Linked DNA regions of Homo sapiens: region 1 is linked to region 2. The links are contacts of gene promoters, found by promoter capture Hi-C in human tissues and cell types (Jung and others, 2019). All regions are on one chromosome and are shown on one strand. Each heading gives the region's core, a stretch centred on a gene start or on the middle of the fragment in contact. The rest is flanking DNA. Distances are from core to core; before and after follow the strand shown. Region 1 has its middle 6.5 kb from the start of OPCML. Region 2 holds the start of SPATA19 (spermatogenesis associated 19).

The links. Contacts are between HindIII fragments. The study calls those that stand out against the background at their distance.
Region 1: a contact is called between a fragment that was not itself captured here and the fragment with the promoter of SPATA19 in region 2, in 1 of the 25 tissues and cell types used here (dorsolateral prefrontal cortex).

Annotation. Positions count from the first base shown.
Region 1 is chr11:133,535,249-133,542,781 of GRCh38, reverse strand. No RefSeq gene overlaps it. Among named protein-coding and RNA genes, the nearest start is that of OPCML, 6.5 kb to the right of the region's middle. RefSeq lists enhancers at 1,074-1,368, 1,041-1,612. The HindIII fragment of the contact is 3,936 bases long and covers 308-4,243 here.
Region 2 is chr11:133,839,316-133,846,819 of GRCh38, reverse strand. SPATA19 (spermatogenesis associated 19) reads left to right here and starts at 1,307. Exons shown (of 7, transcript NM_174927.3): 1 at 1,307-1,451; 2 at 1,630-1,686; 3 at 2,180-2,311; 4 at 2,483-2,574; 5 at 4,258-4,335; 6 at 4,715-4,790; 7 at 5,897-6,189. The coding sequence starts at 1,374. The coding sequence ends at 4,781. RefSeq lists an enhancer at 4,077-4,619. The HindIII fragment of the contact is 7,724 bases long and covers 1-3,862 here.

The DNA.
Region 1 (7,533 bases), core at 1,026-3,525, 310 kb after region 2:
GAAATACGCAGATGTGGCTGTGCCTAGAGAATGTCATATCCACTACCGCAACGATGATATGGCCACGTGCAGGGGCATTCCTACTTTCCAAAGGCTTTTTTGCTGGTCATTTGGCTGCCTCCCTCCTTTCTCCAGGGACCGTGGAACACTGCATCAGGGCCATCTCTGCCTTCTGCAGGGCTCAAGCTTCTGTGCACACTCAGCTTCTCTTTGCGCACAATGGATGCTCAGTAATGGTTACTGATTGAATGCTTAGTAAATATTACTTGAAAATAAGCTAAAATGGTCCTAGATTAGATGCTGACTTAGTTTTTGCCATAGAAAGATGCATATTGAGTTGAAGTAATAAACCCTTTGATTCCTTGGCCACTTTTGCTACATAGAGAATTAGCTCCCGGCCCCCAAAGATGCCAGGGACAAGGAAAAGCTTGTCCTGCATCTCTGTGCAGCTTTGGAATTAATTTTGGGTGTAAATCCTTAAAAAAAAAAGTGTGCATTCCCTGTGCACTAAATGTTGGTCTCTGGGAAGAGAAGAATGTGGAGTTAAGTACCTCATGGCTAGAAAGCGTTAGAACCTCAGTTGTAACCGAGGTGTATGATTCCTAGTTGTATGCTTCTTAATGACTTGGGCTTTATTTTTACATTGGCACAAACAGCTAGCACAACCATGGAAGTCATTGTCACTTAGTCTCTGGGGCCAGCCTTTGCTAACAACAAAGTCTCCTGACTCTCCTGAGCCCCTATCCTGCAAGAAAACTTATTTTGGACTGTAGCCTCACACAAAGGGTCAGTGTCAGCAATCTGTGAGCACAGACATGCAGGAGGGAGGAAGCCTGAGTGGCTCCCTCGGTGCCAGCCACCTCCTCCGAGCGAGCGTGGGCCCGGGCTAGGTGGAACCTAGGCAGTAGCTGGTGTGATGGAGTGGCTGGAGGGGTTGGAGGCAGAAGGAGATGCAGTTAAAATTCTCCGCCTTGCTTGAACATGTCCTCCTGGAAGCCATGAAGTTAGGGAATGTGTGACTGTGTGTTTTTCTTTTTCTTCACCCCCTCCCCGCCTTCCCTCTTTTTCTTCCACCAAATGCAAATCAATAGATGTGTATTCACAGCCTAACAAGATGTCAAGGAGAGAAGAGTAGCCTTTTCATTCAGAGAAGAGTAGGGAGAGGCCCCTCCACACAGGGAGAAAAGGAGGACAGGAAATGGGCGGGGAAAGCAAAAGGGAGGAGAGAGAAAGGGAAAACCAAAGTCAGCCACAAGACAGAGGGTGGCGCTCCGGGCAGGAGTCTGGGAGTGCTGGCCCTGCCTGACACTTACTTGTGGGTGGGCGTCCTTCCGCATTCCTGCTCTTCACTTTGGAAAAGGGCTAATGACTTTTTCCCCCTTACATAGGCTATTTCAGTTCTTGCTTGAGAGACGTTCTGGGGGAAAACTTGCATACGAAGGTGAAAATCTGGTGCCATTTTCTTCAATACTTAGTTAAAGTGGGATCAGGCATATCTAAATAGAAGGCTTGTGATGAGGCGAGCTTGGTTATTGCACTGTCTCCAGCACATCTAGCCAGTGTTTGGGCTGTGTGTGAGCTAAGGCAATGCTTATGTGATTAGTGACAGCAACAGTGTTTGAAAGGAGCATTCATTGTCGGGGCTGGCTGGTAGGAAAGGCCTAAGTATCAGGATATATGTATGCCGGTCCTGGCTTAATCCTTGATTTGCTAGGATTTGGGTCAGATCTTTTCATCTCAGTTCCTCCTTATTTTTCTATCTGCGAAGTGGGGCTAATTTGTTCCTTCTGTGCTCCTTCACACGGGGGTGAAGCAAATAAATGACTTCATGAAAGTGCATGTTTGACGCACACTTCAGCAGTAGTCACTCATATTTCAGTGACTCCTGTTTGTGCAGGACTTTGCTTTCTATTGGAAGCAGAGCTTGCTATTCCAGGTGTGGTCACAGTTCTGTCTGTCATCTTTCCTGCTTCATGGCTACTAAGTGCATGAACTTGTATGCAGTCAGTTATGGAGGGCTGATCTCCAGTGTCTTCGCTAATCTCACAGACATGATAACAAAGGGTTAAAAAGGTACAAATCCCAAGGACAAACAAAAAATAGAAAAAAAATTGGAGGTGTGATGGATGTTTTCTTCAGAAAAAAAAAAAAAAAACAACAATCAGTGGCAACTGATTTAGTGAAGAAAGGACATTTAAGGGTCTGCAGGGTGACATGACAGATAGACTTAGACTGTTGGACCCAGGCCTGGGAATGAGAGGTACAGGATACCTTGGAAGACACAAATGGGGAGGGCTGAAAGTAAAGGATTGGTTGAAAGTCTGTGTCATACACTTCTCATCCCCAGAATTCCCTGATCCTCCCACTATAGCATGAATGGAAAGTTAATTTTTGGAAGGAATTGAAGAAGAGAGGCTCCAGTCTCAACCACAGGAGAGAGTTGAGGCCCTCTATTAAAAACAAAGAGGTTGAGAGTCTCCATCCTGAATGGTGAAACCCACTGAGCCTTCTTCTAGAATGAGAGAAGCCAGGATTTTACTCCCCTGGGAAGAGAATGAAGGGCTCCTCTGTGGGGAAATTTGTCTGGCTTAAGGACAAAAAAAAGGACCTACAACTGCTGACACTTTGCGGGAAGGGGCCCCAAGGCCAGCTCCTTGCCTGATAATCTTTAAAGGATCTGCCAGTCAATAATGCAAGTTAGTCTTTTGTTGCTTTTCTCTTGAATATAAAAGGAAGACCAAAGATCACCAGACAGTTGAGGAAGCTTTTCCGCATAAAAGCCAAAGACAACACAACTGAGGGAAAAAAAATACGTTATCTGAGGAAATGGAGATTTTGCAGGCAGCAAAAGGAAATCTCAGAAGCCTTAATTAATATCCTCAGAGAGATGTTAGAAGATATTGTGAACGTGAAACAAGAATAGGGAACTATTTTTTAAAAAAAGACAACAAAGAAGACCATTTGAAATTAATAGTTTGATAGTATAATTAACAAAATTCACTAGGAGAAATTAAAGTCAAGGGCATCTTGATGAAAAAGAGAGAAAATAGATGGAAACCAATCCAGGTACTCTAATGTCCTTTTAATAGGACCTCCACAAATAAGAACAAATAAAATAGAGAAGAGAAACATTTTGAAGCCACAATGTGAAAAAAATTCAAAATTCCCAGAGTTAAAGGACATGAACATTTTCACACTAAGAGAGTTTATTGAGTGCCTGTCACAATGAAAGGAAACAGATCCACATTAAGAAAGATCTTTTTTTTTTATTTTTTGAGAGGGAGTCTCACTTTGTCACCCAGGCTGGAGTGCAGTGGCGCCATCTCGGCTCACTGCAAGCTCCGCCTCCCGGGTTCACGCCATTCTCCTGCCTCAGCCTCCCAAGTAGCTGGGACTACAGGCACCCGCCACCACGCCCGGCTAATTTTTTTGTATTTTTAGTAGAGACTGGGTTTCACCGTTTTAGCCGGGATGGTCTCGATCTCCTGACCTCGTGATCCGCCCGCCTTGGCCTCCCAAAGTGCTGGGATTACAGGTGTGAGCCACCACACCTGGCCTAAGAAAGATCTTTACAAAATTTTGGAAAGCCATGAATAAAGAGAATACCCTAAGTATTTACTGAGACAAAATAAAGCTGTCTCACATACAAAGATACATAAATTGATATTCATCAGACTTTTCAACAAAAATGCTTAAACTTAGAAGAACATAGAGAAATGACTTCAAAATTTGAAGTGGATACTCATTCTCAACCCAGCATTCTATGTGCAGCTTAACTAGCTATACATGTTGAGTGAGGTAAGAATAAAGCCATTTTCCAGTATGCAGATAACCACCTAAGTATGCTTTCTCAGCAATCTATACAAAGATGAGTTGCATTAATACAAGGAAAGACACCGAGAGGAAAGAAAACCTGCCTCCAGAAACAAGGGAGAAGCACAGGCTGTTGTATTCTCTTGGTAAAGGGAAGTCCCAGATGACACCTGAGGTTCAGGGGGATGAATGACTCTGGGGAATGCCTTTAATACAAGACATTGAGAGATTACTCAATTGATTCAACAATAATGAGACAAATTTTAGAGTTCTGCAGAAAGTTTGGGGAGAGTCAATGATAGGTCTATAAAAAATTAAGCAAATTAAACAAAAAGGCAAATATTATCTCCAGGAAAAGCAAACAGTTGCATAAGAAAGACAATAATAAAAAATGTCAATACTGCATATTGATATAATTAAACAACTGCATATTGATATAATTAAACACTGTGAAATTATTTATATTTAAAAAGGGGGCCGGGTACGGTGGCTCATGTCTCTAATCCCAGCGCTTTGGGAGGCCGAGGCGGGCGGATCACCTGAGGTCAGGAGTTCAAGACAAGCCTGGTGAACATGGCAAAACCCCATCTCTACTAAAAAATACAAAAATTACCCAGGCGTGGTGGCAGGTGCCTGTAATCCCAGCTACTCAAGAGGCTGAGGCAGGAGAATCTCTTGAACTCGGGAGGCAGAGGTTGCAGTGAGCCAAGATTGCGCCACTGCACTGCAGCCTGGGTGATAAGAGTGAAACTCCATCTGAAAAAAAAAAAAAAAAAAGGGAGGAGAGGTGCAAGGTTAGCAGGGAACAAGGTTGAATCCTCATCTCCTGTGGTAGGTAGTCAGTAAATCATTTTAAAAATTGTTAAATGAAGAAGTGGAAGAATAAGCACTTTTTTTTTTTTTTCAATCTTTCACCGGGCTGGAGTGCAGTGGTGCGATCTCAGCTCACTGTAACCTCTGCCTCCCACGTTCAAGTGATTCCCCTGCCTCAGCCCCCCGGGTAGCTGGGACTACGGGCACCTGCCACCATGCCCAGCTAATTTTTGTATTTTTAGTAGAGACGGGGTTTCACCATGTTGGCCAGGATGGTCTCAATCTCTTAACCTTGTGATCTGCCCGCCTCGGCCTCCCAAAAATATAAGCACAATTTTAAAAGAAAGGAAGCAAATACCGGAAGAAATAGCTAAAAGAGATGGAAGTTGTTGCTCCCGCGGAGTGGGATTTGGAATGCTGTTTTCAATCTTAAGCAGTTAACACTAAAAACTTGATAAACTATGTAATATATTACTTTAAGGTTTAAAAAATTTTTTTAAGTATGATGCTGACATCATGTAGTAAACCTTGTAATGATTTCATGTAAGCGTATCAGAGACCTTTGAGGGAGGATGGAAAGCATGTGGCCTTTGGAGTCAGCCAGCTCTGAGTGAATCTCAGCTCTGCCAATGCTCTGCAGAGCCTTGGGGAAACCCTAGCTGACATTTCTGTGAAGTGTGTGTTGCAGTGTCTACTTTGTGGAAGGGATTGGTGTGAAGAGTAGCCACGGTGCATGTTAGCCACCTTGCAGGGAAACTGGAACGTAGTGCATGTTTCATAAGTGATACTTATTGTTAAGGCTTTCTTGGGCTTGACCAAGATATTTTGTGAACATATTCAAATTTCGAAGAAGTATCAGAAATAGGTTAAGACCTGAGTCCAAAGGTACAACTCCCATTGTAAGAGAGTCCCTGGGACTTCAGAAGGGCTTACTCTTCTAGTCATAAGCCAGTCATTTAATAAATCATTGCTCCTTTGAACTAAATGACACCTTTGTGGTTTAAAGGAGTTAATGTGCCTTCCAGAGTCTTTAACTTGCTCTCAGGGAATCACTTACAGCTCAGGAGGCTCCAGTTCATTTTGGAATATTGAAAGCTTAAGTGGAAGAGTCAGATTTTAATCTGTAATGTTTTATCATCTTCCGCTTTTTATTTTTTGCAGGCAGCCCCCAACCCTAACAAGTATTTCAGTATCTAAAAATCCATCCTTCCTGTTCCATTGTTGGGCTCCAAGTGCACCAATCCATCATCTTAACACTATTTACTGCAGAGTTTGTCTCAGCAAAAGGTTGGGTGAATGTGAATTGCACTAAAGAGCTGTTAGTGTCCACACAGTCTACTCTCTGCTTCCGGGGTTTGCACTTGCTGCTTTCATCTGCCAGGAACAATCTCGGGCTTTTCCTCCTTCTGGGAAGCTCCTACTGGGATCCCAGCTTAGAAGTCCTGTCCTCAGGGCAGTCTCACACTCTCCCCGTCCCCAGGTGTATCTGTATCTCATGCTTTGCCATAGACCTATATATTTTCTACACACACTTGTCATAAATGTAATCAATTCACGGTTCAATGTTCTCCTCCCCCACTGCTCTCTGAATTTTGGAGGGGTGAGGACAGTCTTGTCTTGCTTTACATTGTATCTCTTTGCATCACATGTAGTAGGTTTGTACCTGGCCCAGAGTAGGTATCTAAGAAATATTTATTGCATGAATGAATGGATACATAAAATACCACAAGGTAATCTCTTCATCAGTGCAGTTCTCTGTATAACAAAGAAACAATATGAGTCAGAGGAAGTCCCTGTATCCTTGCCCAAGGTCATACAGCTGGTGTGAAGGAGCAGGACTGGCATCAGGCAGGAGCACACCTTGGACCCAGGGGGACCTCACCCCTGATCCAACATTCCCATTCCCCATCTGGCCCTAGGAAGCTGGCCGCTGCCTTTGAAGATGTCAGCCCAACACCGCTGTTCCAGAAGAAAGAATCCTAGTCAGAAGTGCAAGTGTGACAGTCAAGTCTCCTTGCACAACTGCCTGGTGTTGGTTGGTTTGTTCCCCCACATTGTTGCTATTTAAATACAGTTTTGATGATTTTGTTTGCTTTGGAAGAAGAAAATAAAGATTCACAGAAGGTATAAAATTGCATATTATTTACCCCAGAGAAGAGAGCAGTCCCCCTAGTAAATATGCATTGAAGCATTTTTATTTGTATTTGTATTTTTTAAAGATGTTTAAATAGACCCAGTAGACCGTAATATCTCTTTACAGAGTTGGTGCCATCTATTGATTAAATATGCATTTATACATTTCTTCCTCTACTTTTTTTAAATAAAAGAGACATATGTTTTAATCATATAATAGACCTAAAAGAATTGATCAGTGAAAATACATATTTATGTGTTTCCTTAAGGAAGATCATATTAGGTATACAAATTTTAAAAATTTTTTCCTGCTATACATAGAAGTGTGTTAAATGTGAATTTAATTAAAAGACTTGGGGTATGTGTGTGTGTGTATGCTCATGTGTGTGCATGTGTGTGGACTAGGAAAAATGTTGGCAGAATAAATGGGTGTTTTTAAAACAAAAATATAGTTGACAGGGAAAGGTGAAAGAATGTAAACTCTGGAGTAAGAAAGACCTCAATTTCCTTGCCACTTATTAGTCTTAGAGGAGGGACTCGAGACTCTCTGTAACTTGTTCTATTTATTTATCTTTGAAATGGGCTAGCAATACAGAGAAAATTTATGAAGTTCCTAGGATTGTGATTGGCCCAAGACAGTTTAATGAAAGTTTGCTCCTGTCTGGCCACTAGCTACCGACTAGTAGTGTGTGCCCCTCTTTCCTGGAGTGGGGTTGGGGCTGCATGGAATGCACTTCCATGTCCTCAGGTGCTACTGCACAGGCAGCGCTGGGA
Region 2 (7,504 bases), core at 58-2,557:
CTAGATCAAAAGCTCTAAGTAGGAGCCTCTGAGCTGAAAGGTGGAACACTGACCTGATTCCTCTCTGTGCTCTCTTCCCTGCTTTGGCAGTCATGGAGGTCGTGTCCTCTGAATGTGGACCTGTGAGTCTCCACATGGCACACAATTGCTCTGAAATTACCCAACTTGCACGAGAGCTTTTGAGAGTGAGAAATAAACATTTTGATTTGGAGGTTGGTTTGTTGCCTCAGTCCTCAGCAGAGCCTAGCCGATTCTGACTATGTCAGGGATGATATAAAATTGAGGCGAATTGTTGAGAGGGAAGACGTGTAGTGGCTGTATCAGGGGAATTGGAGAAAGTGATAAAAGGTTTTCTATAATCCTGAGAAGAATAAACGTGGGAAAATTTTTGGAATATTAGAGTTAGAAGAAAGCTAGGGACACAACTCTATCCCTTTCAGTATAAGACAAAGAAACTCAGACCAGAGGGACTAATGATTAGGTCAAGAGCACATGACAAGTTGTTGCGGGACAGGTTGTTACTGGTGGAGGGTGTTCAGGTTCTTGGCGTCTTAAACAAAGAAATGGACAAAACACACAAACGAAGGAAAGAATGAAGTAACAAAGGCAGAGATTTAACGAAAATAAAAGTACACTCCACAGGATGGGAGCAGACTGGTTACAGAATTTTCTGGGGTTTAAATACCCTCTAGGGGTTTCCCATTGGTTACTTGGTATATACCCTATGTAAATGAAGTAGTGGCTCATGATCAGTCTGATTGGTTGCGGAAAGTGACCAATCAGAGGCTGAAGTGAAGTTATAAAGTTATATCTCTATGCAAATGAAGACCTGGCCCACAACCAGCCTGATTGTGGGAGGGGAGCAATCAGAGATACTTTCAGTTTTTCATCTGCCATGCAGAAAAGGAGAGGGTTGCAAAGGGCGTAGCCTCTGGTCTTTTTGTTACTTGGGCACGGAAAGTTGGGGTTTTCCTTTTGATTTAGTTCTAGGAAGTCAGTGTAAATCGGCCTTAGGTTTCCTGGCTCCAGACCCCATCCTCCTGCCTGGAGGTGAGCTCCCAAATTAGTGCTTTCCCAAGAAAAGAATTCAAGGGTCAGCCAATGGTGTTAGACAGCAATCTTTTATTCAATGGTTCTGCTCCTTGAAGCAGGGTAACTCATAGGAGTGCACCCAGAGCCTGAAATGCAGGGGCTCTTGGCAACGGCATTTATACTCACATACATCATTTTCAAAGGGAGGCCATTGTCACATCACCATGGGTCAGCCAATCAGGTGGACACCTCCCTTCAATGACCTTCCTGTCCCATAGGAGTTCTCAGGCAGCTTCAATGGAAGGAGGGAGCCAAGAAGGGGGCCTGGTATACATTCAAAGATGATAATTACGACATGGATTGTGTATATTCTTGCTCGGAAAGGTGTAGGGCTTCCCTTCCTACCAATAACCAGTTCGGTAAGCAGCTTGGTGGTAGTCACATGGAATAATTTTTCATATATCTTCTCCCCCTGTGGGACCCTGCTGCACTTCATAGAGATCTTACAAATAAATTTGAGTAACAGTTGCGGGGGCTGGGTGGGAAGAGCTGAATTTCTAGGTTTTCTGAGGTCACCAACTTGCCAATTTGTTCCAGGACATTGACGTTGTGGAAAGTGAGGCTGTGTCTGTACTACATCATTGGTTGAAAAAAGTGAGTAAGATTTCTTTATGACTCAGGATATCCAAAATGCTAGAGAAGTGGTCTCAGTGGGTGTGGGGATCTGGACTTCCTTCTTCATGGAACTGGAACTCAAGTTCATTGCCAGACACCCTTCCTAGATTTGAGTCTAATTTCTTCACATGTGCTGGAGGACACTGTGGCTTGTGTCCTGGCAGGAAATGTGTTAGCACCACCACTAACGCCGTCCTGCTTCTCAAGCATCCTGGCTTAAGGGTTTCAGCTGCATCCTTCCCAGCTCAAGGGTGTCTCAGGAACACCTTGGGATAGGGCCAGGGACTTAGGGAGTTCTGAGGACTTTACAGGGAAGTAGCTTATTGTGGGAACAGTGAGGTAAGGAGTGTATGTGTGTGAATATGTGGTGTGTGAGTTGTGATGGAGAATGAATAAAAGGAAAGGAAGAGGAGAAGAAGACCCAGGGTTGGATGCAGAGTGACATTTTCAGAGGGAATTTCTCACCTTTCAGACAGAAGAAGAGGCTTCTCGGGGCATAAAGGAAAAGCTGTCCATCAACCACCCTTCCCAGGGTGTAAGGGAGAAGATGTCCACTGACTCCCCTCCCACCCATGGCCAGGACATCCACGTGACCAGAGATGTGGTAAATGAGAGTTTGAGACCTTGCCTGGGAGTAGCGGTGAGGGAGAGGGGAGAGGTGGGAGGTGCACCGTAAATGATTCTGGGCAAGGGTGAGGTGCTCGTCTGGGCTCTGTGCCAGCCCAGTTGGGGGCCACACTGGGCAGGAATCACATGGACCCTCTGGATTTCCCAGGTGAAGCACCACCTCTCTAAGTCTGATTTGTTGGCAAACCAGAGCCAAGAGGTCCTAGAGGAGAGAACACGAATCCAGTTCATAAGATGGAGGTAAGGTGTCCCACTTGCCCTGGGCGAAGGAAGGGGAGGGAGAGATGCGCAAGCCCCTCTCTTCACGAACCCTCAGATGCTCTTCTCTAGAGATGTCGTCTTTGGCTGACAAATTCCTCAGCCTTGCTTTGGGGTCTTAAGGGAATATCCTTGCTATCTTGAAAGCCCAGCTCATTTCTACATTTTTAAATGACTTGAGGGGTTGGAAAACTGGGCTTGCACTCCATTTCTTAAATGCTTCTGAATACATTTCAGATTTCTGTTATTTTTGCACTTGAGTTGCTCAGAAGTGGCTGCACTTTAAAGAGCTAAAAGAAAATAAGCTCTTAAAATGCAAAAGCCAAAGTTTTCATCTGCAACTGAGGTGTGGGGAGGCTTCCCAGCGCCCGAGGCTAGAATTCTGCACTCGGTTATGGTGGCTTCGCCAGCGTCCCGGGTGCCTGCCAGCTCACAGCCGTCCCCACTGCCTCTCGTGGCTCTGCAGATGCTGAGCCCCGAGGCCCAGGGAGCTGGCCTGAAGCCATCATGCTTCAGACAGAGGCTTTCCTATTTCCTTTCCTGCACCTGTGTTCACTGGGGGTCTCTGGAGCACATCAGCCACCCCTTCCCAGGAGAGGGACTGAGGGCTTAGACTGGTCCTACGGGAACCTGAAGGAGACTTCTCCCCTTCCTCCTCTCTTCCTCCTTTCCCTGCCGCATCATCGATGTTGATCTGTTGTATCAAGGAGGCTCCATTTCTCAAGAAACGGTTTCCATGTGCTTACCCCTTCTAGTGGCATCTGCCTTTTAGGAAGACTCAAATGCACAGTAATTTCATAACCAAAAGGAATAACATGGTGGGATCTGAGAGCTCCCTGGGAAAGAGTTTTTTTGGATGGGAAGCCTTCTGAGGCCCCTAAAATCATAAATGTTGTTGATTATAATCCAGGCTTTTCTGTGCCTGACGTGGTTGTGCTATGGAATTGCGGACATTGTGCTCCTTGGTTTGGATAACACACACATCATCTTCCAATATTTTAAAAATCTCGTCTGTATAAAAAAACTAGTTTTAAGCTTTTCAGACAGGCTACAGGAATCAGTCAATTATTTACATATAATTTTTCCACTCTGGATTTTCTACAAAGATTTTAAACCAAAAGCCTCCGCCTATCTCCCCCCACAACCCACTGGTTTTGGTGTCCCCCTCTTATTTCAGTAAGTATATAGTCAGGAAATATATATATCCCTTTATGAAACAAAGCAAGGAGGCTCCCCAGGGGACCCCACAGCTTCCTCGCTGTAGGCTTTCCTAGAAGCATCTCTGAACCACAGTGGGTGTGGGGTGATGCAGGTCATCAAGAGCTGATGATAGGAGAGGAATTCAGAAGACTGAATTCAGAAGGGTGAATTCCACGGCTCACGAGACCACTGCTTGCTGCCTTTAGTAAGGGCACTCAGCTCTGTGTCCCTGGCTCTCCCCGGGACAGTCTGCTACCTGTTCAGCATTACTGGGGGCTCAAGGGTACCTGGTTAGTAAAAAAAAGCTTTGTGCTCATGAGTCAAGAAGGGGGAGAGACCAGCTCAAAAGTTCATGGTGTCAGGGCAAGAGTCATTGTTTGCAGGATCCCATCTCTAGCAGCTCTCTATGCCTGTTAAGAAAGAAACTCAGATCCCATATGCCAATGTACGAATGGCCTTTTGCAGCCACACTCGTATCTTCCAAGTGCCAAGTGAGATGACAGAGGACATCATGCGAGATCGAATAGAGCAGGTGAGACGAAGGTAAGCTGTTTGGAACTGCTTGATTTGTGTTCCTGACTGGGGGCAGGTAGGGTGGGGGTGACTGCTGGGTTTCCCGCCCACACCCAGCAATGCTATCTCTGGTATGCCAACATCAAGAGCAGAGACACACAGTTCCCAGGGCTGCGTCTTGTCTTCTGTGCTCCACATGACAGGGCTTTGCCAGCCTCCCATGGTGTCTGCCAGTGCACAGAAGGGCTTCAGGCTGTGGGCCTGTTCATATGACTGTGCTCCCAGGCCCAGTGTGGCCACGGCCTAGGCACGGCCTGCCCTCCCACCGCAGCCCCTGTGCCGTGGTCTGGGTAGGCTCTGCTATCAGGCAGCCTCCCTCCACCTGGCCCTTCTCCTCTGTCCCCTGCAGCATATCCCGTCTTACAGATGTCTCAGCTCAGGACTTCAGTATGAGACCCTCCTCCTCAGACTGCTGAGAGCAACAGGTGAGAGAGCTGACGGATGAGGAACTGGGCAGAGAAGATGGTTATCCTGGGCAGTGGGAAGGGGCACTGCAGCTGGGAACTTGGTAAAGAGGCTTAGCTTTTCCCTACTGGGGAAGGGCCTGCACTCAGGGCCAGTAGTGGGAGAGGAGGGCTGGCTGCCTTAGGCTCCCGCAACGCCTCTCTTAAGTTTGTGGAAGGACTTGAAGTCAAATTTGATTGGTTTCCTGACTCTGTGGTGTCAGAGAGCACTGCCTCTCCATCATTCATGGGCCCGGGCTTTCGTGTTTAGGAGGTTGTGGTGGAGCCTGCAATTTTGCATTTCTAAAAGTTTCTGGGCATTGTCACTGCTGGTCTGCTGACCTCACCTTGAGTCACAGATCGTAGTGTCAGGAGTGATGCTGTGTAGGTTTTAGACCTGCCACCAACTTGTGATGTGACTTTTGGTCCCATGGCCACTTGCCTTGTGCTTGGCCCGGTGGTCACACGGGGGCTGTTTATGAGGCCCTGGGAGGTGGAAGGCCAATGGCAGGATAAACAACCACAAGAGCTATCCGGGATGCAGTCCCTGAGCCTGTGGTGAACAGCTGTGCTGACCATCCTGCGGCTAAGGGAGAGATTTAGGCACAGCGACCTCAGCATGCTTACAGGAAGGCTGTTGGAGAGCAGTACCGGCATTTATCAAGGACTTACTGTATACCAGCTTCTGCACAAGGTAGTTTGTCAGGGTTTATCATTTGATCCAAAAACAACCTTAAGAGAGGGCGTTGTTGTGCCCATTATACAGAAGGCAGAACTTAAGTCAAGCCCGGGAGCAGATGCTGGGTTCCAATTCAGCTCCACCATGGGCAAGTTACATAATGCCACTGTGCCTCAATTTCCTCAATGCAACAGAGTATCTACTTTGGAGGGTTGTCTTGGGGGTGATGGTGTCTAGCACATGGTAAATGCCGCATCAATTGTTTGCTCATATTACTAGAGAAGAACAGGAAGTGCTGGGAGGGTACACAGTTCGCAGGGGCTTCTGAGCTGGAAGAAACAGACTCAGGCTTCAATTCCAGCTGCCTGATGCACCACTGACGATTCTTCCATGGGTTTCTGCTCTCTAGATGGAGCTTTGGGAACGCGGAGAACAGTGGGGTTACAGGGAGTCATCATCAGCCCTACCCCTTGGCCAACCACATCTCCCTGCTGTGTCCCCTGGGCATTTCTCTACCTCCCAGGTGGAAGTCCTTCAGGGTCCAGCAGCAACCTGTATCAGAAGAACATCCTTCTCTGCTTGACCTGAAGAAGGGCCAGACCTGGGCAGAAAGACTCCAGCAGGTGAGCTCTTCATGCGACAGTGTCAGCACTGGAGTCTTCTTGCTGAACTGCGAATAAAGAGATGTGCTGTTTAACAACCCGCCCTGTTGCTGGTTGGGGTGCTGTGCCATTCATTTGTCCATTCATCAGATGCTGAGTACCTCACAGGCCTGGCTCTGGGGACACATGACTTACAGCCTTGAGGGAGACAGACAGCAGCCGTTCCAGCAATGTGACAATGGCGATATTGGTGCTCCTGGAACATAAGAAGGAGTGCTCTGTGGCTGGGGCAGGGAGAACTTTTTGAGGGAAGTGTGCTGGTTTGTTTCAGACATTTATGTTATCTGCACTTATTCCTTCTCTAGCTCTCTTCCTTTTTAATGTAGATTTGAGTTTCTGCCCTATATCCTTTTCCTTCTCTTTGAAGAACTCCTTTTAAGGTTTCTTGCAAGGTAGCTGTACTAGTGACAATTTCCTTCAATTTTTGATGGTTGGAGAGTCTTTATTTGTCCTTCTTTTGAAAGGTAATTTTGCAAGATACGGAATTCTAGGCTGACAATCTTTTTTTCTTTCAACACTTAAATATTTTACTCCACTCTCATCTTGCTTGTACGGTAACCGAGGAGAAGCTGGATATAATTTCTATCCTTGTTCCTCTATAGATAAGGTGTTTTCCCTTTCAAGAAATTTTGTCTTTGATTTTCTGCAGTTTGAATGTGATATGACTAGGTATAGTTATTATTGTTATTATTATTATTATTTTTTGCATTTATCTTGCTTGGTGTTCTCTGAGATTCCAGGATCTGTTGTTTGGTGTCTGTCATTAATTTTGGAAAATTCTCAACTACTAATCAAACTCTTTTTTGCGGGTATTCTTCTCTCTTTTTATTCTCCTTCTTGTCTTCCCGTTACACATATGTGACACCTTTTGAGATTGTCCCACAGTTTTTGGAAAATGTTTCACTTTTTTCCACTCTTTTCTTTTTCTCTTTGTGTTTCAGTTTGGGTAGATTCTACTGACATTTCTTTTTTTTAAATTTTTTAATTATTATTACACTTTAAGTTTTAGGGTACATGTGCACAACTTGCAGGTTTGTTACATATGTATACATGTGCCATGTTGGTGTGCTGCACCCATTAACTCGTCATTTAACATTAAGTATATCTCCTAATGCTATCCCTCCCCCCTCCCCTACCCCACAACAGGCCCCGGATTGTGATGTTCCCCTTCCTGTGTCCATGTGTTCTCATTGTTCAATTCCCACCTATGAGTGAGGACATGCGGTGTTTGGTTTTTTGTCCTTGTGATAGTTTGCTGAGAAAGATGGTTTCCAGTTTCATCCATGTCCCTACAAAGGACATTAACTCATCATTTTTTATGGCTGCATAGTATTCCATGGTGGATATGTGCCTCA